Regions from separate parts of the Homo sapiens genome. Here all the other regions are linked to region 1. The links are contacts of gene promoters, found by promoter capture Hi-C in blood cells and fetal thymus (Javierre and others, 2016). All regions are on one chromosome and are shown on one strand. The core of a region is centred on a gene start or on the middle of the fragment in contact, and the rest is flanking DNA. Distances in the headings are between cores, read along the strand shown.

The links. The method cuts DNA at HindIII sites, captures the fragments that hold promoters and counts their contacts. A CHiCAGO score of 5 or more calls a contact.
Region 2: a fragment that was not itself captured here is called in contact with the fragment with the promoter of ZNF512B in region 1 in 7 of 17 cell types (monocytes, neutrophils, M0 macrophages and 4 more); the score reaches 9.7 in monocytes.
Region 3: a fragment that was not itself captured here is called in contact with the fragment with the promoter of ZNF512B in region 1 in 9 of 17 cell types (naive CD4 T cells, activated CD4 T cells, naive CD8 T cells and 6 more); the score reaches 8.2 in naive CD4 T cells.
Region 4: a contact is called between a fragment that was not itself captured here and the fragment with the promoter of ZNF512B in region 1, in 2 of 17 cell types (neutrophils and activated CD4 T cells). The highest score is 5.2, in neutrophils.
Region 5: a contact is called between a fragment that was not itself captured here and the fragment with the promoter of ZNF512B in region 1, in 5 of 17 cell types (total CD8 T cells, M0 macrophages, activated CD4 T cells and 2 more). The highest score is 6.2, in total CD8 T cells.
Region 6: a contact is called between a fragment that was not itself captured here and the fragment with the promoter of ZNF512B in region 1, in 1 of 17 cell types (activated CD4 T cells). The highest score is 5.6, in activated CD4 T cells.
Region 7: the fragment with the promoter of ARFRP1 here is called in contact with the fragment with the promoter of ZNF512B in region 1 in 3 of 17 cell types (fetal thymus, naive CD4 T cells and activated CD4 T cells); the score reaches 6.7 in fetal thymus.

What each region holds. Positions count from the first base shown.
Region 1 is chr20:63,968,298-63,971,337 of GRCh38, reverse strand. It overlaps ZNF512B (zinc finger protein 512B), which reads left to right and starts at 1,408. Exons shown (of 17, transcript NM_020713.3): 1 at 1,408-1,524. RefSeq lists a silencer at 1,221-1,300 and enhancers at 1,983-2,518, 2,519-3,040. The HindIII fragment of the contact is 18,187 bases long and covers 1-3,040 here.
Region 2 is chr20:63,504,498-63,507,537 of GRCh38, reverse strand. LOC105372725 (a long non-coding RNA gene) reads right to left here. Exons shown (of 3, transcript XR_937004.3): 2 at 2,542-2,634; 3 at 1,806-2,183. Among named protein-coding and RNA genes, the nearest start is that of EEF1A2, 6.9 kb to the right of the region's middle. The HindIII fragment of the contact is 815 bases long and covers 1,112-1,926 here.
Region 3 is chr20:63,577,178-63,580,217 of GRCh38, reverse strand. No RefSeq gene overlaps it. Among named protein-coding and RNA genes, the nearest start is that of HELZ2, 4.5 kb to the right of the region's middle. The HindIII fragment of the contact is 4,805 bases long and covers 1-3,040 here.
Region 4 is chr20:63,593,409-63,596,448 of GRCh38, reverse strand. GMEB2 (glucocorticoid modulatory element binding protein 2) reads left to right here. Exons shown (of 10, transcript NM_012384.5): 6 at 682-839. Among named protein-coding and RNA genes, the nearest start is that of HELZ2, 21 kb to the right of the region's middle. The HindIII fragment of the contact is 6,029 bases long and covers 1-3,040 here.
Region 5 is chr20:63,609,995-63,613,034 of GRCh38, reverse strand. All of the region lies in intron 2 of GMEB2 (glucocorticoid modulatory element binding protein 2), which reads left to right. Among named protein-coding and RNA genes, the nearest start is that of GMEB2, 16 kb to the left of the region's middle. RefSeq lists an enhancer at 2,373-2,542. The HindIII fragment of the contact is 1,398 bases long and covers 788-2,185 here.
Region 6 is chr20:63,682,534-63,685,573 of GRCh38, reverse strand. RTEL1 (regulator of telomere elongation helicase 1) reads right to left here. Exons shown (of 35, transcript NM_001283009.2): 15 at 1-51. RTEL1-TNFRSF6B (RTEL1-TNFRSF6B readthrough (NMD candidate)) reads right to left here. Exons shown (of 38, transcript NR_037882.1): 15 at 1-51. Among named protein-coding and RNA genes, the nearest start is that of TNFRSF6B, 13 kb to the left of the region's middle. RefSeq lists enhancers at 1,411-2,135, 2,862-3,040. The HindIII fragment of the contact is 9,518 bases long and covers 1-3,040 here.
Region 7 is chr20:63,706,406-63,709,445 of GRCh38, reverse strand. ARFRP1 (ARF related protein 1) reads left to right here and starts at 1,470. Exons shown (of 8, transcript NM_001267547.3): 1 at 1,470-1,579; 2 at 2,349-2,447; 3 at 2,708-2,795; 4 at 3,007-3,040. The coding sequence starts at 2,355. ZGPAT (zinc finger CCCH-type and G-patch domain containing) reads right to left here and starts at 1,407. Exons shown (of 7, transcript NM_181485.3): 1 at 1,328-1,407; 2 at 282-893. The coding sequence starts at 865. RefSeq lists silencers at 1,135-1,294, 1,335-1,394, 1,815-2,054, 2,145-2,194 and enhancers at 522-1,482, 2,345-2,404. The HindIII fragment of the contact is 8,200 bases long and covers 1-3,040 here.

The sequences.
Region 1 (3,040 bases), core at 159-2,658:
TAAGCCCAGGAGTTCAAGACCAGCCTAGTCAACACAGAAAGACCTCGTCTCTATGAATACTTTAAAACTTAGCCAGGTGGGGTGGCACACACCTGTAGTTCCAGCTACTTGGGAGGCCGAGGTGGGAGGATTGCTTGAGCCCAGGTGGTAGAGGCTGCAGTGAGCCAAGATCACACCACTGCATTCCAGCCTGAATGACAGAGCGAGACCCTATCTCAAGAATAAAAAAAGAACGGAGAAGGAGAAAGGAGAGGAGGGGAAGGGAGGGGAGGAGAAGGGAGGGGAGGGGAGAAAAAGAAAGAGAGAGAAAGGAAGGAAGGAAGGAGAAAGGGAGGGAGGGAAGAGAAGGAAGGGAAGGAAGGAGAAAAGGAAGGGAGGAAGGGAAGGGAAGGAAGGAAGAAGGAAGGAAAGGAAGGAAGAAGGGAGGGAGGAAGGTAAGGGAAGGAAGAGAAGGAAGGGAGGAAGGGAGGGAGGGAAGAGAAGAGAAGGAAGGAAAGAGAAAAGGAAGGAAGGAAGAAGGAAGGAAAGGAAGGAAGAAGGGAGGGAGGGAGGGAAGGGAAGGAAGAGAAGGGAGGGAAGGAAGAAGGAAGGAAGGAAGGAGAGAAGGAAGTAAGAGAGGGAAGGAAGGAAGGCAGGCAGGCAGGCAGGCAGGCTCTCCTGGGGGAGATTCTTGTGGGTCCTGTGCCAGTCCCGTGTGGTGCCTCCTACCAGTCCTCTTTAGGAGAGCCAACCTTTCTCTGTCTCATTCATTCCCAAGTCCTGTGCTGTCAGTGCCCCGCCACCTCCAGACCACTCAGCCCACACCGGACCCCAGTGCCCCCTGCCTGCAGAAGCCCAAGCTGTGGGGCAGAGAAGGCCCTGGCACTGGTTCAGAACCACTGCCCCCAGAGCTGGGAAAGGGTGACCCAATGGTCAGTGACCCCAGTAAAACCCCATGGCCTTAAGCCGCCAGGCACCTCCGGGGGTCAGTCGCAAAAGTGGTCTCAGGGCCAGTTGGAAGAAGGCTGAATCCTGCGCTGCCGGTGCACGGCCCCCAGGGCCAGAGGTCAGGGTCCCGAGCCCAGAGACCACACTCGCCGCGCGGGCCAGGATGCGGCGGAATCAGGTCGCCTCAATCCGTGCGCGCCGGACTCCGGGCAGTGCCTAGCGCCCCTATCGGGCCTCAGTTTACCCCACTGTCCAAAAAACGTCCCCCGCCCCAGGACGGCAGAACCGGCTACTCTGGACTGCGGGCCCGGCCGACGGGGGCGGAACCGCGGAGCGGGGGAACCACAGGCCAGCGCCGGGCCCCCGCCCCCGCCCCCGCCCCCTCCCCGCCCCCTCCCCGTCGCGGAGCGGCCGCGGGAATAACGCGAGAGTTCGCCCCCTCCCCCCCGCAGTAAAACTGTCAAAGGTGGGAGGGGCGGGAGCGCGCATGTGCGCAGCGCGGCGCGCAGCCTGCGCCGCCCGGACCCAGCGCCCCGCGCCCCGCGCCCCCCGCCCCGGCCCGGCCCGGCCCGGCCGCAGCCCCGCTGGGCGCCGCAGGTAAGCGCCCGGCCGCGCCCCGGACCCATTCTGGCCGCAGCCCCGGCGCCCACCGCGCCCCGGATCTCGACCCTGCGCGCAGGCCAAGGAGGGGGCCGGGCCCGGAGCCCCCCCGCCCCCCGCCGCGCCCGAGCCCCCGCGCCCCGCGCCGGCGCCGTCTTCCTGCCTCCTCCTTCTCCAGAAAAAGTCGCCATTTTGGTTCACTGCCTTCGCCCCCCCACCCCGCGCCCGCGATCGGCCCTGCCCGGCCAGGCCGAGGCCCGCGCCCCGCGCCCGCTCCCGGCCCCAGGTGACAGGTGGGTGGCGAGGCTGGCCCCAGGTGCGCGTCCCTGGCCGCGCTCACCCGCGCGCCAGGCCTGGGCCGGGGTCCCGGGCCGAACGGCCTACGCGGCGGACCCGCTGCTGGCGTCTCCTGCGCGCAGCGCGGCGGAGCCCCCTCTCCCCGCGAGGGCTCTGTGTCCCCGCTGGGCTCGGGAGGGCCGAAGCCCCTTCTCATCCGGGGCGCCAGTCGCGTCTCTGCCTCCCAGGCTGGCCCTGGCCTCAGGCCCCACTATTCTGAATTCTTCTCCCAGGCTTCAGAAAAATTGGAAGTGGGGCCTCAGCAGGCACCTGCACCCCAGGCCACCGGGGTCATCAGGTGCTGGGATGACTCATGCCGGCCCTGTCTCCTTTCAAAAGTTGCAAAGTGAGGACTTCCAGAGAACTTTGTCCCCGGACACTGGCCTCCCCCTTGGCAATGGGCAGTGACTGTCCTGACCTCTGACCTCAGCTCTCTGGCCCTCCTGGACACAGCAGCCCCTTCCCATCCCCTCGGATCCAAGTTAATTAGAAGCTATCAGGAGGGGGCCACCTGCCCACTCAACCCTCACCCTGCTTCCTGTCCCACCCCCTTCCGTGGCTTTTCCACAGGGCTGGGCCCAGAGTCTCCTCTGCTCCCCAGCTCTCAGGATGGGGTTCCCAGCAGCACAGGCCCTCGGGGGCCCCAGCCTTGGGCAGCAGGGCGTTCTCTCTGGCCAGCATCCTGGGCCTTCACTGCTGGTGCTTCCACGACTTGTTTGGCTGAAGTGGTAGTGGTGGGTCTGTAGGCAGAGGACTGAGAGGATCCAGAGAGAGGTGGGGGGCGGGTCAGCCTGCCAAGCCTGGAGACAAGTCTGCGAAGAGCATCAGGTAGGATAGTTCAGCCGGCACAGGGACGGGAGCTTGGTGCAGTGCCAGATTGGGCCAGGGGTCCTCAGTGCCCACCTTGGCTGTTTTCCATCTGTGTCTGGAGAGAAGATTCCAAGGGTACCTGCCTGGGTAGGCTGGCATTGCATCAAGTCAGCATGGGAAGGTATGAGGGCCCCAGTGAGAAGCTGTGCCCCCACTGCTGGGCCTGGGCAGCTTGTGAGCCAGCAGCCATCATCAGAGACATAATTGGCCCCTGGAGGAATGTTGCCAGCCTCCTTCCTCCTGCGCAAGGCACCTCTCCCAGGGGCACACCCCCTCCCAGCACTGGGTAGGAGTGCATCACCTTCGG
Region 2 (3,040 bases), core at 270-2,769, 460 kb after region 1:
CGACTGGACCCACTGGGCCGAGCTGGACAAGATGACTGGACCCACTGGGCCACGCTGGCCGAGACGACTGGACCCACTGGGCCGAGCTGGGCCGAGACTACTGGACCCACTGGGCCGAGCTGGACAAGATGACTGGACCCACTGGGCCACGCTGGCCGAGACGACTGGACCCACATGGCAGCGGACTTGACCTGGGTTTCACCGGTGACCTAATTATATGCTCATCAACACACAAATCACACTCGGCAGTGCCATGACAGTTCCAGGAACACACATATTTGGTGTAAAAAAGGGTGGCACCACAGTTCCTAGAAATCTTCACCTTTTTCCAGAAATCTTTATGAATATTCCACTCCTTGGTTAAAGAAACCCATTAAAGGTAGGGGCCCCAAACCCTGCCTCACGACTCACTTTCTTGAGAACACCCATACTCCCCTTTCTTCTTTGACTTTTTTTTCTATTTGCTTGTTTATTTTTATGAGGCAGGGTCTCACTATGTTGCCCAGGCTGATCTCGAACTCCTGCCTCAGCCTCCCAATGTGTTAGGATTACAGGCGTGAGCCTTCACACCCAGCCACACTCTGCTTTCTGGAGGGTGTACTTTTTGCTTTGCAATAAATCTCTACTTTCATTATTTTTTAACTCATCCTTGAATTCGTTTTGTGATGGTGTTAAGAGGCAGGACACTGGCCTGGGTCAAGGTCCCATTCGCATTTGGGGACCTCCCCTGGCCACCAGTATCAAAAGTACTTCCTTGTTAATTTTCAGGGTTTTTTTTGAGACAGATTCTCACTCACTCTGTCACCCAGGCTGGAGTGCAGTGGCATGATCTTGGCTACTGCAACCTCTGCCTCCCGGGATCCAGCGATTCTCGTGACTCAGCCTCCTGAGTAGCTGGGAATACCGGCATGTGCCACCATACCTGGCTAATTTTTGAATTTTTAGTAGGGATGGGGTTTCACCATTTTGGCCGGGCTGGTCTTGAACTCCTGGGCTCAAGTGATCCACCCGCCTTGGCCTCCCAAAGTGCTGGGATTACAGGTGTCAGCCACCGTGCCCGGCTTACTTATCAGTTACAAAGGGCAAAGTGGTAACTTTACTGTGAGAAGCTTGTGGATGCCAGTTTAACCAGAGGATCAAAGGTACCGTTGCCGCTGGTGGGCAGCCAGCGTCCCGAGTGCTGGGAAGGATGCCTGGCTCTTGGTGCCAATCTGTTCATGCAGAAATGTCAGGAACGCTCAATGCGGGGACAATCTACAAAACAACCGGTTTGCATTCTTCAAAAGTTTCAGTGTCATAAAAGATTTTTAAAAAGACAGGCCCAATGTATATACCGTGAAAATAGTAAAACAATAAAATATAAAAGTAAAAAGACTGAAGTAACCTTGTCTTTGTATTGATGTGGAGTCAACCGCTGCTTCCAGTTGCGGGGGAGTAGCTGCTGCCAGGTACGTCTCCCTCCAGAAACGACTCTGAGACCAGACAAAATTCGTGCGCTGCTCTCTTCAGGCAGTGGGGTGAGGACAGCACAAGACCGAGAGGGTGCTTGGAGGCGCCCACACTCCCGGCTCTCCTTGGCCATAACCCCACAAGCAGGGCTCCAGGCAGAGCACGGCAGTCCCCCTGGGATGAGAGGCAGAGACTGGAGTGAGGGGCTTAGGTGTGCATGTTGCTGGTGGGGAGTGCTTGGGACCTCTGCAAGCCTGTGGCTGAGGGTGAGGAGGTGCCGGAGGCTCACCAGAGAGCAGTGACTATAGGCCCTGTGCTGTTATCCGTCACTGCATAACCAATCAACACCGATTTAGTAGCTTTAAAAAACATGCATTTATTCTCAGTTTTGGGGGGTCAGGAGCCCACACACAATTCCGCTGGGTGGCTCGGGGTTTCAAGAGTGCCACCAAGGTGTTGGTATTTCTTTCTGAAGCTTGAGGTCCTCTTTGAAGGCCACGTGGTTGTTGGCAGAATTCAGTTCCTTGTGGCTGTAGGACTGAGGTCCCTGCTTTCTTGTTGGCTGGCAGCCTGGGGCCACTCACTGGTTCCCTGATACGAGGCCCCTCCCATGCCTTCCAACAGCCATATCTTCACAGACAGCAGGGGTGTCTTGCTGCTCCGTCCCCCAGGACAGAGCCTGGAATGATGCAGCCAATCACAGAGTGACTTATCACCTTTCTGTGTTCTATGGGCTGGACACAAACCGTAGTGTTTCTCGGAGGAAAGTACTCAAGGCTGCGACTCACCAGGGATTACCTGAGGTTGTATCCACCCAGGTTAGAGCAGAACAAAGATAGTAGAGGACAAGCTGTGTCGGGCAGTATTTTGGCATTTGGCATTTGGACCTGGCCAGAGTGGAGAGACTTGGGCGGCATTGGCATTTGGCATTTGGACCTGGCTAGAGTGGAGAGACCTTACTTTTTTTTTTTTTTTTTGAGGAGAAAGGACTACAATGTACAATAATGCCTACTCCACACTCACCTAACGAAAGTTCAGACCAAGCCCCACAGAGATCTGCAGGGGAGACTGAGATTGAGGGTTGAGTCTTACCAAGGTAGCAGGACTTGGGAAACACTTTGGGCTTTCGACATCGACACTGACAAAGCATGAGAACAAGTCCACAGGGCCCAGCAGTGAACCAACCTGCAAAGCAAACACCGACAGCTTCAGAGGAGGAAGCAGAGTAGACTCTCCACATGATGTTCAGTATTCAGTCAAAAATCACTAGACACACGAAGAAACAGGACAATGCAACCCACGCTCAAGGGGTAAAAGCCAATTATCAATTGATTTATTTCCAGCTGCAAATTCACCCTTTATTGCCTTCCTCAAAAAAGTGAATCTCAGCTGGGTGCAGTGGTTCGCGTCTGTAATCCCAGGGCTTTGGGAGACGAAGGCGGGTGGATCACTTGAGCCCATGAGTTGGAGACCAGCCTAGGCAACATGGCAAGACCCTATCTCTATAAAAAATACAAAAATTAGCTGGGCGTGGTGGTGTGTACCTGTAGTCCCAAATACTTGGGAGGCTGAGGTGGGAGGATCGCTTGAG
Region 3 (3,040 bases), core at 166-2,665, 390 kb after region 1:
CAACCTGGAGACACCGTCTATTCATAGACATTGTTGTTAACCTGGAAACATTGTTGTCAACCTGGAGACACCATCAATTCATAGACATTGTTGTCTACCTGGAGACACCGTCTTTTCATAGACATTGTTGTTAACCTGGAGACATTGTTGTCTACCTGGAGACACTGTTGTCAACCTGGAGACACCATCAATTCATAGACATTGTTGTCAACCTGGAGACACCATCAATTCATAGACATTGTTGTCTACCTGGAGACATTGTTGTTAACCTGGAGACATTGTTGTTAACCTGGAGACACCGTCAATTCATAGACGTTGTTGTCTACCTGGAGACACCATCTAGCTGGAGACGCCATCTGTCCTTAGACATCCTCATCTACCTGGAGATGTCCACACAAGGCTGCTGCCCACTCCCCATGCCAATCTCAAGCCCCGGGTGCTTCAGACCAATTGGCTATAAATTGAGGTTCCTAACCCCCATATTTGGGTCAGATTAATTTCCTAGAGCAGCTCACAGAACTCAGGGAAACATGTTTACCCATTTATTATAAAGGACGTTACAAAGGACGCAGATGAAGAGATGCGTAAGGGGAGGGGCGCAGAGCTTTCACCCCACAAGGGCACCCCGTCCAGGAACCTCCACGGCTCTCTGAGCCCTGTCCTTTTGCGACTTCATGGAGGCTTCATTACCCAGGCATGATTGATTACGTCACTGGCCACTGGTGAGGACCGCCTTCAGCCGCCTCTCCCCTCCCCTGCCTGGAGGTTGGGGCAAGGCTGCAAGTACCACCCTCTACTCCTGCTGAGGCCTTTCTGAGGACCAGCCCCATCCTGAGGCTGCCTCCAGGCTGCCAGCCTTCGGTCAATATCAGCACAAAAAGGCACTTGCCACTTTGGCTACTCCAGGGATTTTAGGGGTTTTTGCCAGGAAACGGGACGAGACCAAATATGTTAATGTATATTTCACAATGTCACACGCACATGGCTGTGTGTGCAGAGGCCAGGCAGGGAGAGAGGACAGAGCAGCTGGGAGGCCCCGGGGGGCGTAGACCCATCCTGGGACTAAACCCCCATCAGATCCTTCTGGCACCCCTGCAAGGAGAAGGTGTGGTCCCCCTGACTTTCTCCCCAGGGGCTCATCTCGAAGGAGGCCTCCCGGCTGCACGGCTCCCACAAGGCCAAGAGGAGGAGATCTGAAATCGGCTCCACTCCCTCCCACTGCAGACCCTATCACCTCCTCCACTAGGGGTGTGAGCTTTTGGCTGGTGGGAGGGCGCCCGGGAGGGTCTCTGGAAAGATGGGAACCGGGTGTTAAAGACCTGCTTAAGCGAGTTATACCCAGAGGCCGTCAGTTCCTGCCCGAGAGCACATGGCCCACAGTCACAGGTAAACTGAGGCCTGGCCCTAAGCCCTGGGGACCTCCACCTGCTTCGTGACGCTGGGGACAGTGTGTACGTTTTCCTGCAGGGTTCAGGTGATGGCAGACGGCAGAGGGCAGCAGACGGCAGGCTGGCACTGGGGGGCCATGGAACCCACTGGCAGGGACGCTGGGTGAGGAGGACCTAGGGACCGGGATGAGACAAGCTGAGGGTGTTGGGCAGACATTTCTTACTTTGTATTTTGATATAATAATTTAAACAAACGTACACAAATGTTGCAAAAATAGAACAAAGGACTCCCTGTGCTCTATGCGGACTCACCAGTCGCTTTGTTCTGGCCCATTTGCCGGTTCTGTAGAAGCCTGTAGTTCCAGGCAATTGAGACTAAGACACGATACCCCTTCACCTTTCAGATACGATACCCCTTCACCCTTCACCCTTCACCCTTTACCCCATCACTTCAAGGTGTGTTTCCTCAGAACGTGGAAGCTGTCTGTTACAAAGTCAGGAAGCTGACGTGGATACAATAATATTACTAATACTCAGCCCGTGTGAGCGTGTTGTTGGCCGTGTGCTGTGTGTACGTGGAACTCTCTCCCGTGGTCTCACACTCAGCCCGTGTGAGCGTGTTGTTGGCCGTGTGCTGTGTGTACGTGGAACTCTGTCCCGTGGTCTCACACTCAGCCCGTGTGAGCGTGTTGTTGGCCGTGTGCTGTGTGTACGTGGAACTCTGTCCCGTGGTGTCACACTCAGCCCGTGTGAGCGTGTTGGCCGTGTGCTGTGTGTACGTGGAACTCTCTCCCGTGGTCTCACACTCAGCCCGTGTTAGGGGTCACTGTGGCCTGAGCACAGCTGGACGGGAGCCAGAGAGCTGTCCACGGCAACCTGCAGGTTTTCAATGCTCTGTGGACTCGAGGTGGCACTTTTTGTTTTTGTTTTGAGTTAAGAAGACGTGCACAGATGTGAAAGGTGGGCGGAAACAGGACATCTCCCTCCTGTCCTGGCCGCACAGTCCTGATCTGTCTCCCAGGCTGGAGTGCACTGGCACCATCACAGCTTACTGAGGTCTTGAACTCCTGGGCTCAAGTGATCCTCCCGCCTCAGCCTACCAAATTGCTGGGATCACAGGTGTGAGCCACCGTGCCTGGCCAACCTCATTTTTAATGGCCTTAGAGTCTTCCATGGCACAGGGTGGAGACTGCCCATTACATAGACCCTGAGCGAGGGGCCCTGGGCATTCCCGGTCCATTGGGTGTAGAAGGAGCTGCCGGGAGCTGTTGGTGGGCACAGATGTCCCTCTGTGCAGGAGCCTCTGTGGAGCCACGTGGAAGGCGCGTGTCCTGTGCTCCCGGGCCTGGCTGGTTTCCAGAGCGGTGCTGCCAGTTTAGACTCTGGCCGAGTGCCTGCAATGTCAGAGGGGTGGACGGGTTGTCTGGGGCTGGTTTGCGTTTCCCTTACGCCGAGGTTGAACACTTCACTCCATTTACAGCAATTTCACTTTCCACGTTTTGTGAAGTATTGATTTGCATCCTTTGCCTATTTTTCTTTTAAATTATACATCTTTTTCTTAATTTATAAGATCTTTAAAATATTAGAGAGATCAGGGCCAGGCGCGGTGGCTCACGCCTGTAATCTCAGCACTTTGGGAGGCCGAGGTGGGT
Region 4 (3,040 bases), core at 327-2,826, 380 kb after region 1:
TGCCCAAAGATTGAATGAGGCTGGAGCCTCTGACCCTCGTTTCATGGGTCGAGGCAGGCTCGTTGAGACACACAGGACTGAGACCCTGGACCTCCGGAGAGGCAGAAGAGAGGGCCCTGGGAGGGCGGCTCTCAGCAGTTTGGGCCGTACGAAGCCTTCCTGGTAAAGATGAGGATGAGCGGCAGCCATGGCCGTTGGTGCTGTCCTGCGCCCTCATCACTCTTCTTGGCTGTCTCTGTGCCTTTAGAAGGAGGAAGGTTCTCCTGGAAGTGATTTCCCACCTTCCTCTGCTTCAGAATGAGTCACGCATGATGCAGGTGGACTGGGCCCACCTTTGTTAGCTGTGGGTCACTCCCTTGGGGCTGGGGTAGTGGGACATCCCAGAAAGGCCCAGCCCCACAGACTCTGACGGGCACCTCCAGGACACCCACTGGCCAGCGCTTGCCCCCTTCCTGGGGACAGTGCCGTAGCGTGGGCCTGGGCCGGCTGCTTCTTCAGCAGCAGGGTCCTGCACGCCGAGCTCGCGCTAAGAGGGAAGTAGAGCCCACCCTGCCCTGTGGAGCTGCCAGCGCCTCTGCTAGGCCTGCCCCACGCAGGTGGATGGCCCAGGTCAGGGTGGGCGGGCCAGGTGCCTTCGGCTCTGGGGCCGACCTGGACGCTCCATGCCACTGTCTGTCACAGGAAGATCATGGACTCCGGGGAACTGGACTTCTACCAGCATGACAAGGTCTGCTCCAACACCTGCCGCAGCACAAAGATTGACCTCTCAGGAGCCCGTGTGTCCCTGAGCAGCCCCACGTCGGCCGAGTACATTCCCCTCACGCCCGCCGCAGCCGACGGTAGGTGCACAGGGCTGCTCGTCCTGACCCAGCCCCACCCTGGCCATGGCCACAGAGGGTGACATGCCCCTGGGTGGCCTCCTTGGCCCCAGGCGTTTGCTCACGCCAGGACTGCCGGTCTCCTGCCTGGGACCCTGAGTTGTCTGGGATCAGCCTCCTCCTGCCTCACAGAGGAGATCTGGCAGAATTGCTGCTTTCATTGACAAGGAAGATTGAAGCACTTTTCTTTTTAAGCCATTTTGGTTGTAATATAATAACTCACGTGTGGGGAAGGGTATAGCGAGTAACAGAGAGTGCCTGGGCGCCCACCCGGCCCCCTCCCTCCCACCCCCACGGCCCAGCCCCAAATCTGGACCCGCTTCCCTCCTGACCTGGCGGTTTACGGAACTGCGCGCCTGTGCTCCCGCCTTCCGTGCTGGGTGCCTTGCTGCAGGTATTCCTGCCACTTGGGTTTTTGGGTGACGCTTTAGATACTGTTCCACGTTGGTGTCTGTAGCTCTAAACTGTGGAGAGGTTGTTCCCTAGAATTCTTTCCAGCTTTATGAATAGAGAAATTTTTCTTAAAACTACAGTTAGGCTGGGTGTGGTGGCTCACACCTGTAACCCCAGCACTTTGGGAAGCCGAGGCGGGTGGATCACTTGAGGCCAGCCTGGCCAACAGGATGAAACCCTGTCTCTATTAAAAGTACAGAAGTTAGCCGGGTGTGGTGGTGCATGCCTGTAGTCCCAGCTACTCAGGAGGCTGAGGCAGGAGAATCGCTTGAACCCAGGAGGCGGAGGTTGCAGTGAGCTGAGATCGCTCCACTGCCCTCCAGCCTGGGCGACAGTGTGAGATTCCATCTCAAAACAAAAAAACTGAAGTTAAAGTGAAGTTAGGTCCTGGGCTCCCTGGTCACATCTCTGGGTGGTCTTTGGTGATGTGTTTCCAGCAATGCCACATGCATTGTCCCTAAGCTGCCACTCCGCATTGCTGGCCAGATTGTGTTCCTGTGTGCCCAGGGACGTCCTTGTTGTTGGCCCAGGTGGGACCCAGTTGAGTCCTGTCCTGTCCCGCTGGGTAGGAGAGTGAGGCCAGGGCACTAGGGAGGCCTCACCCTTCTCCTGGGCCCCCTTCCACGTCCTGCTGGGGCAGCCTGGCAGGTTCAGTGCTGAGTCCTGAGAAGCCCAGGACACTTGGGCTGCTGTGGTCAGAGGGGCTGGGTAGAGCCCAGCCTCCTGTCTGTCCTCCCCAGGGCCTCCCCAGCGGCTCCACCGCGTTAGTGTTGGCCCTGCCTGACCGCCTGCCAGGGAAGGAACTGGGCCTTCCACGCCCTGTAGTCAGTGCCTCACAGCTAGGCTGAGGCTCAGCTCTTCTGAAGATGATTTGGGTTCTTTAACCTGCAATCTCTGAGAACCATTGACTTGGCTACTGTGCAGTTAGTAAAAGATGCTGTGCCAGCCCCAACTCGGAAAAACGACTCATTCACGCCCCAAATAATTCCAGATGTGTAATATGAGTCATACTCACCACTGCCATGTCTTTGATGAATGTGGAAAAGGCCAGTATTCCCAAAACATTCAACTGCTTCCAGGTCGTTGGTGGTGGTGTTGGAGAAGGAGTCCTGCTCTGTCGCCCAGGCTGGAGTGCAGGGGCCTGATCTCGGCTCACTGCAACCTCTGCCTTCCGGGTTCTAGCGATTCTCCTGCCTCAGCCTCCCGAGTAGCTGGGATTACAGGCGCACGCCGCCACACCCGGTTGACTTTGTATTTTAGTAGAGACGGGGTTTTGCCGTGTTGCCCAGGCTGTTCTCGAACTCCTGACCTTAGGTGATCCACCCGCCTCAGTCTCCCAAAGTGCCTGGATTACAGGCGTGAGCCACCACATCCGGCCCCGGGTTTGTTTTTTAAGCCAGATCTGTGTATAAAGTCTCTATCAGCAACGCCCAAAATGGCCACATATGAACGACACGCCCAGTTGTGTTCTGCAGGCGCGAGAGAGGGACCCACAGGAAGAGCCAGGACGGTTTCTGTCTCTCAAAGCCCCACTTGTTCTGGTGTAGAAAAATGGAAACATGATAGATACTGAGATTTATGATGACTTCAATGAAGCATCACTTGAAGAGGCGAGGTGAGGGCGAGCCCCACGGGCGACAGACGCAGCCGCAGAGCTCTCGGTGGGAAAACAAGTCAAGCAGAAGGATCACCTTGTCTCGCTCCTGACG
Region 5 (3,040 bases), core at 237-2,736, 360 kb after region 1:
AGCCAAGATTGCGCCACTGCACTCCAGCCTGGGCAACAGAGTGAGACTGCGTCTCCGAAAAAAAAAAAGAAAAAGAAAGAAAGAAACCATCCAAAACTTAGTGGCTTAAGACAAGACATAGTTGTTATTATTTTTAATTCTGTTGGTTGGTTCGTGGTTCTGCTGGTCTGGGCCGGCCTCACCAACCCCTGTCGTCAGCTGACAGCTTGGCAAGGACCTGCTGGTCTGGGTGGCCTTGGCCACAGGGGTCTCTGGAGGGAGGCAGTCTGAGGCACAGGTAGGCTCGGCTGGGTGGCTCTCCTCTGCTTTGCCCGGTCTGTGATCCTCCACCTGGAGGCCTGGACTTCTTTGCCCCGTAAGCCCACAGTTGCAGAGGAAAGTGGGCCTCCTGCTCACTTCTGTTGCCTTGATTGACGCAAGCGACATCACCAAGTGCTGGTTCAAGGGCAGAGCTAAGACTGCCTCTTGGTAGGAAGTTACAAAACGTTGAGATCATTTCTGTGGCCACAGAATGACATTTCCATTCGTCCGCCTCCCGCCTTTTCCTGGGCCTTCCCAGCTCACCCCTTGTGGCCACGTCGGGTCTGGGTGTGGCTGGGGCTTCTTGGTTATGGCACGTCTTGATCCAGAGACTGGTGAACTAAAACCTAGCGACTTCCCCTCCCCTACTGAGCGTGCGGTGGCAGACAAGACAGGACGGGCTCCAGGGCAGGTGGCTTGTTCGAAGGCACCTCACTGATCCAAGATGGGGCAGGGTGGCCCTTTGGCCAGATGCGGCCAGAAAGCTTTCTAAGGTGTGAGGGAAGAGTGACAACCATAGCCCAGGTTGGTCTTTATTCTGAGACCATCTCTTTTTTAAATTTTCTATTTTTTATATTTTTTCCTTTCTTAGATTTCTGTGGGTCAGAACCATTTTTTACCTTGACAGAGTCTTTTGCCAGTGGAGAAACTGGAGACATGAAATGATTTTTTGTTTTTCGAAACAGAGTCTCGTTCTGTTGCACAGACTGGAGTGCAGTGGCACAGTCACGGCTCATGGCAGCCGTGACCTCCTGGGTTCAAGGAATCGTCCTGCCTCAGCCTCCTGAGTAGCTGGGACTCTACAGGCATGTGCCACCATGCCCGGCCCCGTGTAGATTTTTAGTACAGTGCTGGGACTGCAGGCATGTGCCACCACGCCTGGCTAATGGGCTCTCACTGTGTTGCCCAAGCTAGTCTTGAACTCCTGGACTCAAGCAGTCCTCCCACCTCAGCCTCCCGAAGCACTGGGGTTACAGGCTTGAGCCACCATGTCTGGCCGATGCAAAACAATTTGATCCCCTGGGGATTCCTTGTTTGGAGAAGAACCTTCTAGCTCCACTGTGTCTGGAATGTTCCTTGCGAGATCACACTAGTCAGATGTGTTTCCTTTTTTTTTTTTGAGACCAAGTCTCACTCCGTCACACAGGCTGGAGTGCAGTGGCATGATCTCAGCTCACTGCAGCAGCCTCCACCTCCCGGGTTCAAGTAAATCTCTTGCCTCAGCCTCCTGAATAGCAGGGATTACAGGCACCCGCCACCACGCCTGCCTAAATTTTGTATTTTTCGTAGAGACAGGGTTTCACCATATTGGCCAGGCTGGTCTTGAACTCCTGACCTCAAGTGATCCACCACCTTGGCCTCCCAAAGTGCTGGGATTATAGGCATGAGCCACCACGCCCAGCCTGTTTCTTCTCTTTTAAATTGCTGTGGCATAAGGTCCTGCCAAGGTTTCCTCTGCCTCATGGCACAGTGGCCCCTTCCACACACAAGAGCCGGGTCTGGGATGGCATTTGTGCCCTTAGCCTGTGCCCTCTCCCCACGCAGAGGCGGTGCTGTGTGTCCCAGGCTGGGGACAGCAGTGCTTGTTTCTGGCAGTTTCTGAATTAGCCATGCTTGCAGCCTAACAAACCACCGCAGAGCTTGGTGGCTTAAAGCAGCAGACACTGGTCATTTCTTAAGGTTTTCGGGCCTGGGCTGGTGCTGCTGGGCCTCGCCGGGGGGTCCAGGCTGGGCTCACTTGCATATCCGGGCATTGGTGGGCTGGCCGAGGCTCTGCATGTGGTCCTCATCTGCCAGGACACCTGCCTGGGTGTGCTTAGCAGGAGGAGAGCCAGAGTCCTCGTAGGGCCTCGTCACAGCCTCTTGGTCAAAGCTCTTCAAAGCTTGGCCCAAAGTCAAGTGGAGGGGGTGGGAAATAGCCCCCTGTCTTGATGGAGGGAGCCATGAAGGACCAGAGGGCATTTTTCAGTCTGCAGTTGCTTTGCCAGGACGCCAAGGCTCTGCCCTCGCGGGACAGTGGCTTATGGAGCAGTGGAGAGTCTGCATGCGCCTTCTTCTCTGAGAAGAGAACCCCACGTGGCAGCTGAGGCAGGGCTGTCTTGAAGGACTTAAAGATCCTCTTCTTTTTTGTGGGGAATTAAATCTGTTCTTCTACCATCTGGAAATTGAGACTTCCTCTTGCTACATGTTTTTTTTGTTTTGTTTTCTTTTTTTGAGACAGATTCTCACTCTGTCGCCCAGACTGGAGTGCAATGGCGCGATCTCGGCTCACTGTAACCTCCACCTCCCGGGTTCACGCCATTCTCTTGCCTCAGCCTCCTGAGTAGCTGGGCCTACAGGCGCCCGCCACCACGCCCGGCTAATTTTTTGTATTTTTAGTAGAGACGGGGTTTCACCGTGTTAGCCAGGATGGTCTCGATCTCCTGACCTTGTGATCCGCCTGCCTCGGCCTCCCAAAGTGCTGGGATTACAGGTGTGAGCCACCGTGCCCGGCTGGTGTGCGTGTGTTTTTAAGCAAACTTCTGGAAGTTTAGAAGTGCACACATCATACAGTTGGCTGTTATGAGGTGCACAGCTGGGAACCCCACCCAGACCTCTCCCAGCTTCTCCACATCATCTCCCCAGAGGCAGCTGCCCGCACGGGTTCCAGAAACTGGAGACTTGTTCCCTGTTTCAGACAACCCTCATGCCAGTGTGGGAACACCATGTCTGCAGGATTAATTTCTAGAAATGGAGGTGG
Region 6 (3,040 bases), core at 163-2,662, 290 kb after region 1:
CCCTGCTGGGGAACCAGGGCTGCCCTCGGAGGGGTCCACACTGAACACAATCTGAAAGGCAGAGGAAGTGCAGCCCCGTCAGGAGCCTGAGGCCACCCGACTTTCTGCAGCATCAGCCGCATACACAGAAGGTCACAGGACACCCAGGGGTCATCGGTTCACCGGCCCCTGCCATCATGCAGCCCCAGGCCAATGGACAGGAGCTGGCACCTGCCTGACCCTTTCTCCTCCCTGCAGGGACCCCCGGTGAGCTCTGTGTTCCCCCAACATAGGCCATCTCCATGCACTGAAAATGCGGCAGCCCGAGGGGCCTCTCCTCCCGCCAACTGGCCCAGCCCTCCTCTCTGTGCCCCTGAGGGCCCCAAATTAATCTAGAAATTCAACATGGCCTAGTGCAGTGGCTCAGGCCTGTAATCCCAGCACTCCGGGAGGCTGAGAGGAGCAAACTGCCCGAACCCAGGAGTTCGAGACCAGCCTGGGCAACATGGTGCAACCCCAGGGTGTTCACCAAAAAAAAAAAAAAAAAAACCTAGCCGGGCATGGTGGCATGTGCCTGTGGTCCCAGCTACTTGGGAGGTTGAGCTGAGAGGATCCCCTGAGCCCAGGAGGTTGAGGCTGCAGTGAGCTGTGATGGTCCCACTGCACTCCAGCCTGGGCAACAGAGAGACCCTGACTCAAAAAAAAAACAGGAATTCAACACATTCTAGTCAAAATCACAGTAAGATTTTTACAGGAAGTAGACACGCTGACTCCAAGATGCACTATGGAAAAAACGTCAGGGCAGGTTTCAAAAGAACAAGAGGCCGGGCGTGGTGGCTCACACCCGTAATCCCAGCACTCTGGGAGGCCAAGGTGAGAGGATCACCTGAGGTCAGGAGTTCGAGACCAGCCTGGCCAACATGGCAAAACCCCATTTCTACTAAAAATATCAGGCTGGGCACGGTGGCTCATGCCTGTAATCCCAGCACTTTGGGAGGCGGATCACGAGGTCAGGAGATCGAGACCATCCTGGCTAACACGGTGAAACCTCGTCTCTACTAAAAATACAAAAAATTAGCCAGGCGTGGTGGCAGGTGCCTATAATCCCAGGTATTTGGGAGGCTGAGGCAGGAGAATGGCGTGAACCCGGGAGGCGGAGCTTGCAGTGAGCCGAGATCGCGCCACTGCACTCCAGCCTGGGCAACAAGAGCAAAACTCTGTCTCAAAAACAAACAAAAAGAAATTGGTTCAGGCCAACACCAGGACTTACGACAAAACCACAGTGAACAAAAACATGAGGAAAAGTGTGGCAGGTGCCCAGTGGAGTTGGGGGAAGCCGAGCCGCTCGGTCAGCGCACAGAACCACCGGTGTGGCGTGCTGGGAAAAATCAAGGTAGAGTCTGCCTTTCACACCCCCACAGGTGACGTCAGAAGGCATGGAGGCCCAGACACAAAGCTCCGTCACTCTACAGTGCAGTTTGGAGAATACACAAGACCCGGTTTAGCATCTTGGTCGGGAGGCACAAGCTCAGAACAAAAATCTGACAAGGAAACATGTGTTCACCAAACCTGTCATGAAAATGGAAAAAATGACCAGCATGAGACAAGGAAAGAATATGTATGTCGGCATGGGATCCTCAGAACTTAGAGAGAGAATATGTATATGGGATCCTCAGAACTTAGAGAGAGAATATGTATATGGGATCCTCAGAACTTACAGAGAGTATATGTATATGGGATCCTCAGAACTTACAGAGAACCCTGCAAATCAATGGGAAAGGAATGATGCCTGCACTAGGAGAGGAGCGCGTGACGACCGTTCCTGGAAAACGAGCCAAAAACGGCCAGAACAGGAACGCAAAGCCCCCAACAGGCTCAGCAATGTGGCCATGTCAGCCAAGCCACCGCCGTCAGAGCCCCGCCGCAGACTTGAGGGAGTTCTGCTGGGAACACCAAGAAGCCGGAATCATTCACAGAAATGCGGAGAAGCCGAACTAGAGAACACCGGGGGGCAGACACCACGGCTGGAACACAGAGACTTGGCAACATGCGTGGATTTGTGCAGGCGTGCGTGCGTGTGTGCGTACTCTGCATGCATGTGCACGTGCCTGGGTACGCACAGAAGGAGAGAGAAATTTCCTTCCGTTCCTTCCTTCCTTCCCAGCCATTTTCACTGTCAAGACAGCTAAACACAGGGCCTTGTGTTTTACCAAAGCATTTGGCCCACGGGGATGGAAGTAACAGAACAAGTTCACCCCCACGCTGGTGGCTGCCATGAGCAGGGCTGAGTCTGCCTCAGGAAACAGCTTCCTTCGAAAAGCCTTCTGCTGGGCAGGCATGGAAGCTCTTGCCTGTAATCCCAGCACTTTGGGAGGCCAAGGCGGGCAGACTGCCTGAGCCCAGGAGTTTGAGACCAGCCTGGGAAACATGGCAAGACCTCATCTCTACAAAAAAATTTTAAAAATTAGCTGAGTGCGGTGGTGCACACCTGTGTTCACAGCTCCTCGGGTGGCTGAGGCAAGAGGATCACTTGGGCCCAGGAGGTTGAGGCTGCAGTGAGCTGTGATCAAGCCCCTGCACTCCAGCCGGGGTGACAAAGCGAGACCCTTTCTCAAAAAAACACCACCACAAATCCCCCTGTGCCTCAGCCCAGGGCAGCTCCGGCCTCAGGCAGAGAGGGATGAGGACCCAGCAGTCTCACGGGGGCCCAGGGGCAACTGGTTCCCCAACACGGGCCAGCACTGCCCAGAGTTTGCCTCCAGCTAAGCCCTGACTTCCGAGCACACGGCCTGACCCTGCCTGGAGTTCGCCTCCAGCTGAGCTGTGCATCCCACATCCTCTTCCTGGGGCCACTGGCCCCACTCTGCCCCCAGGGTCACCTGTGACTCAGGGCTGCAGGCCCAACCCAGCACCAGCCCTATGGGCACCGCCCACACCTGCAGGGGCTCAGGAGCCAACGCGGGTGAGCACTGTGTGCAGTCCCTCATCCTCCAGGCACCCGAGGGCTGGCAGAAGCTGAGTCATCCACCAGCGGCTACTTAGAGCAGCAGCCAAAGGAAAT
Region 7 (3,040 bases), core at 221-2,720, 260 kb after region 1:
GCGTGGTCTTGAACTCCTGACCTCAGGTGATCTGCCCGCCTCGGCTTCCTAAAGTGCTGGGATTACAGGCGTGAGCCACCGCGCCTGGCCTCCTTCCATGCTTCTTGATTCACCCCAGAAGGAAGACGTAGACGCCTGAACACAGACACAGCTGTCAAAGCACGCCTGCCCCAGGAAGCTGAGACAAAACTGCAAAGCAAAGGGAGGGCCGATCCTGACCCGACCCTGTGTGCGTGCCCCTTACGCCCCTAAGGTTGGCATCTGACAACAAAGGGCTTTACCTGCAGTTCTCCTTAAAGCGGCACTTTCCCTCCAGGAAGAACGGGCACGGCTTCAGAGACTTGTGAGTGGGGTACAGGTAAAGCACACGGACACCCGCCGAGCCATCCTCCGCCTCTTCCGTTCCCACCACCATGGCGTTGTGATACTCCAGAGTGCCCCAGGAGCTGTAGTAGGGCGCGCTCACCTTTGTCCCACTCAGCTCTTCCTCGTCCTCTCCCTCTTCCTCCTCCTGCCCACCTGCCGCAGATTCTGGCCCCGCCTCTGCTTTAGGAACGGTCTCTGATCCGGACCCACGGGCCGCTGCTGGTGCCTCCACCGCCTCAGTGATGGCCTCCCGGAAAGCCTGGTACTCAGCATCTTCCTGGCGGCCCGGGCGCTCTTCGTCCAGCGCGGCCAACAAGCTGCTCTTCCTGACAGACACCAGGCTGGCCTCGGTGAGCTCGATGAGCTCCTTCAGGTCCCCCTGCAGCTGGCGCAGGTCAGCCTGCTCAGACGAATCCAGGCCGGCGCCCAAGGCCAGCTCCACCTGCTGCAGCTGCGCACGGTAGGTCTGCAAGGCCGACTCCAGGCTCTCCTCGTCCATGCTGAGAGAGGGAGGCGCTGGACCAGGGCTGCAAGAAGAGAAGCCAGCTGAGCCCCGCGTCTCGGGACCGACCCCACAGCCTGAGGGCGGGCACGGGCACGGGCACGTCCCCTTTCCCTCGGGGAGACACCGGCTCAGAGGCACAGCTCCCAGCGCAGAGGTCGCAGCCCGGGTACCCCCGCTCAGGCTCCGCGCTTCCCTTCCGAGCCGCCGTGGGCTCGCCGCTAGCCGGGTCCCGCGTCACTCCGGAGCCCCTTCCCCGCGGGGCGCCCCGCCGCCTCACCCTCCGCCGAGCCCACCCGCCGCGCCCGCCGCCTTCCAGGCCGGCCGCGCCCCCCCGCCCGGCGTCTCTTCTGTCTGGCCAGGGCCGCGTCCCCGCAAACCGCGGCCACCTGGTCCCCGGCCGGGCACCTCCTCCGCGCGGTTTCCCAGCCGCAGCCACAGAGAGCCCGCCGGCCTCACCGGCTAGAGCGGCCCGGCGCCCCCTTTTCGCCCCAGCAGCCGATCGGCACTTCCTCCCGAGCGCCGCCGCTTCCGGAAGTGCTTGGCGCGCGGGGGCAGCCGGGAAGCGGAGCGCGGAGGCCGCTGGGACGCGGTTCAGCTCATTCCCTGAGGCCGGCCCGCGTCCCGTCAGGCGCCGCGCGGGGTTAGCGCGGGGTCAGCGGAGGTCAGCGGGGGTCAGCAGCAGCGGCTCCGAGGGCGCGGCGGACGCAGGTAGGCCGCAGGCTGTGCGGTGAGGCGCGAGGCCCGAGGGGCGGCCCAGGACTCGAGGTGGGACGCGGGTGTGACAGGAGCCAGCTTTGGCTGCTTGTCGGGGAGCCTCAGACCTGGCGGCGGCGGCTTGGGGCGGACGTAGCCGGGGGCCGCGACCCAGGTTCTTCCTTCGCAGTCGTTCCCTGCCAGCCGCGCGCCGCCTCCAGGTGCACTCCAGGAGCAGCCGCGCCGCTGCTCACCCGCCCTGTAGTCCGCTCCCCCCAGGGCCGTCCCCGTTTTAAGAAATGGGGTGATGGGGCGTCCCTACCCGGCGCCTGCAGGGGCTCCTGGGGAGCGCGCCGGTGGCTCGCTGCTCCCGGGTGGGGCGCGGGGCTGGCGCTCGAGGGTGCCGTGGCCCAGGCGGGGCTGCAGCGAGTGTGTTCCCCGTTCCGCGCGCGTGAAGCGTGGGAGCGAAGCCTCGGGGGAGGGCGGGAGCGCGGCTGAGCTCACTGTGAACACCCGGCTGGGTAGTCCCGCGAGCAGGGGAGGGGCCGGAACCGATGTGTATGCGGAGAGGTCGCAGTCATTGCTGTGAGCAGGACACAGTGGCGGCTGACCTGGGAGAAGTTACAGAGGGACGGGGTGGGAGAGGGACGAGGAGTCGGGAATGGCCCCCAGGCTCTCGTCCTGAGCGGTCGGCTGGACGTGGGGCGCCACTGACCACCGTGGAGAAGCCCGGGGGAGGGGAGGTGCTTTCTGGCTGCACACTGACCTATGTTGGGGTGCCCAGGGCAGGATGTACACGCTGCTGTCGGGCTTGTACAAGTACATGTTTCAGAAGGACGAGTACTGCATCCTGATCCTGGGCCTGGACAATGCTGGGAAGACGGTGAGTGCCCACGCCCTTGCGCGCACCTTTCCCACGGCCTGGCGGCGCCCCCTTCGGTTTTGTGCTGTCAGCTGCACGTTCACTACCCAGACGGAAGCCAAATTTCACCTGAGACGGCAGGATAGTCACCACCAGCCTCCTGAAGAGCAGAGTGTTGCTCTGTTTCTGTTTCTGTCTTTTAAAGAACAGACCTGAGTAAGGATATTTGGAAGCCAGTATAGCCCCTCCTTGATGTGTTTCGCCTCTGCCTCTCTCCTCAGACCTTCCTGGAGCAGTCGAAAACCCGATTTAACAAGAACTACAAGGGGATGAGTCTATCCAAAATCACCACCACCGTGGGCCTAAACAGTAAGGGTCTCAATAGCAGGCTGTGGGTTTGGGGCCTTGAGGATGCCGTGATATTCACAGTCCAGCTGGCCCGTGGCCACAGCCCTGTCGGGCCCCTCTCAAGTCTCATTTGAGTGGCACCAGCATGGTTTGCCCCATCCCCTGGGAGAGCTGGGACTGGGTGTGTCGAGGACCAAGGTCATGAGCCTTGCCTGTTTCCTCCTCTCCCCAGTCGGCACTGTGGATGTGGGAAAGGCTCGGCTCAT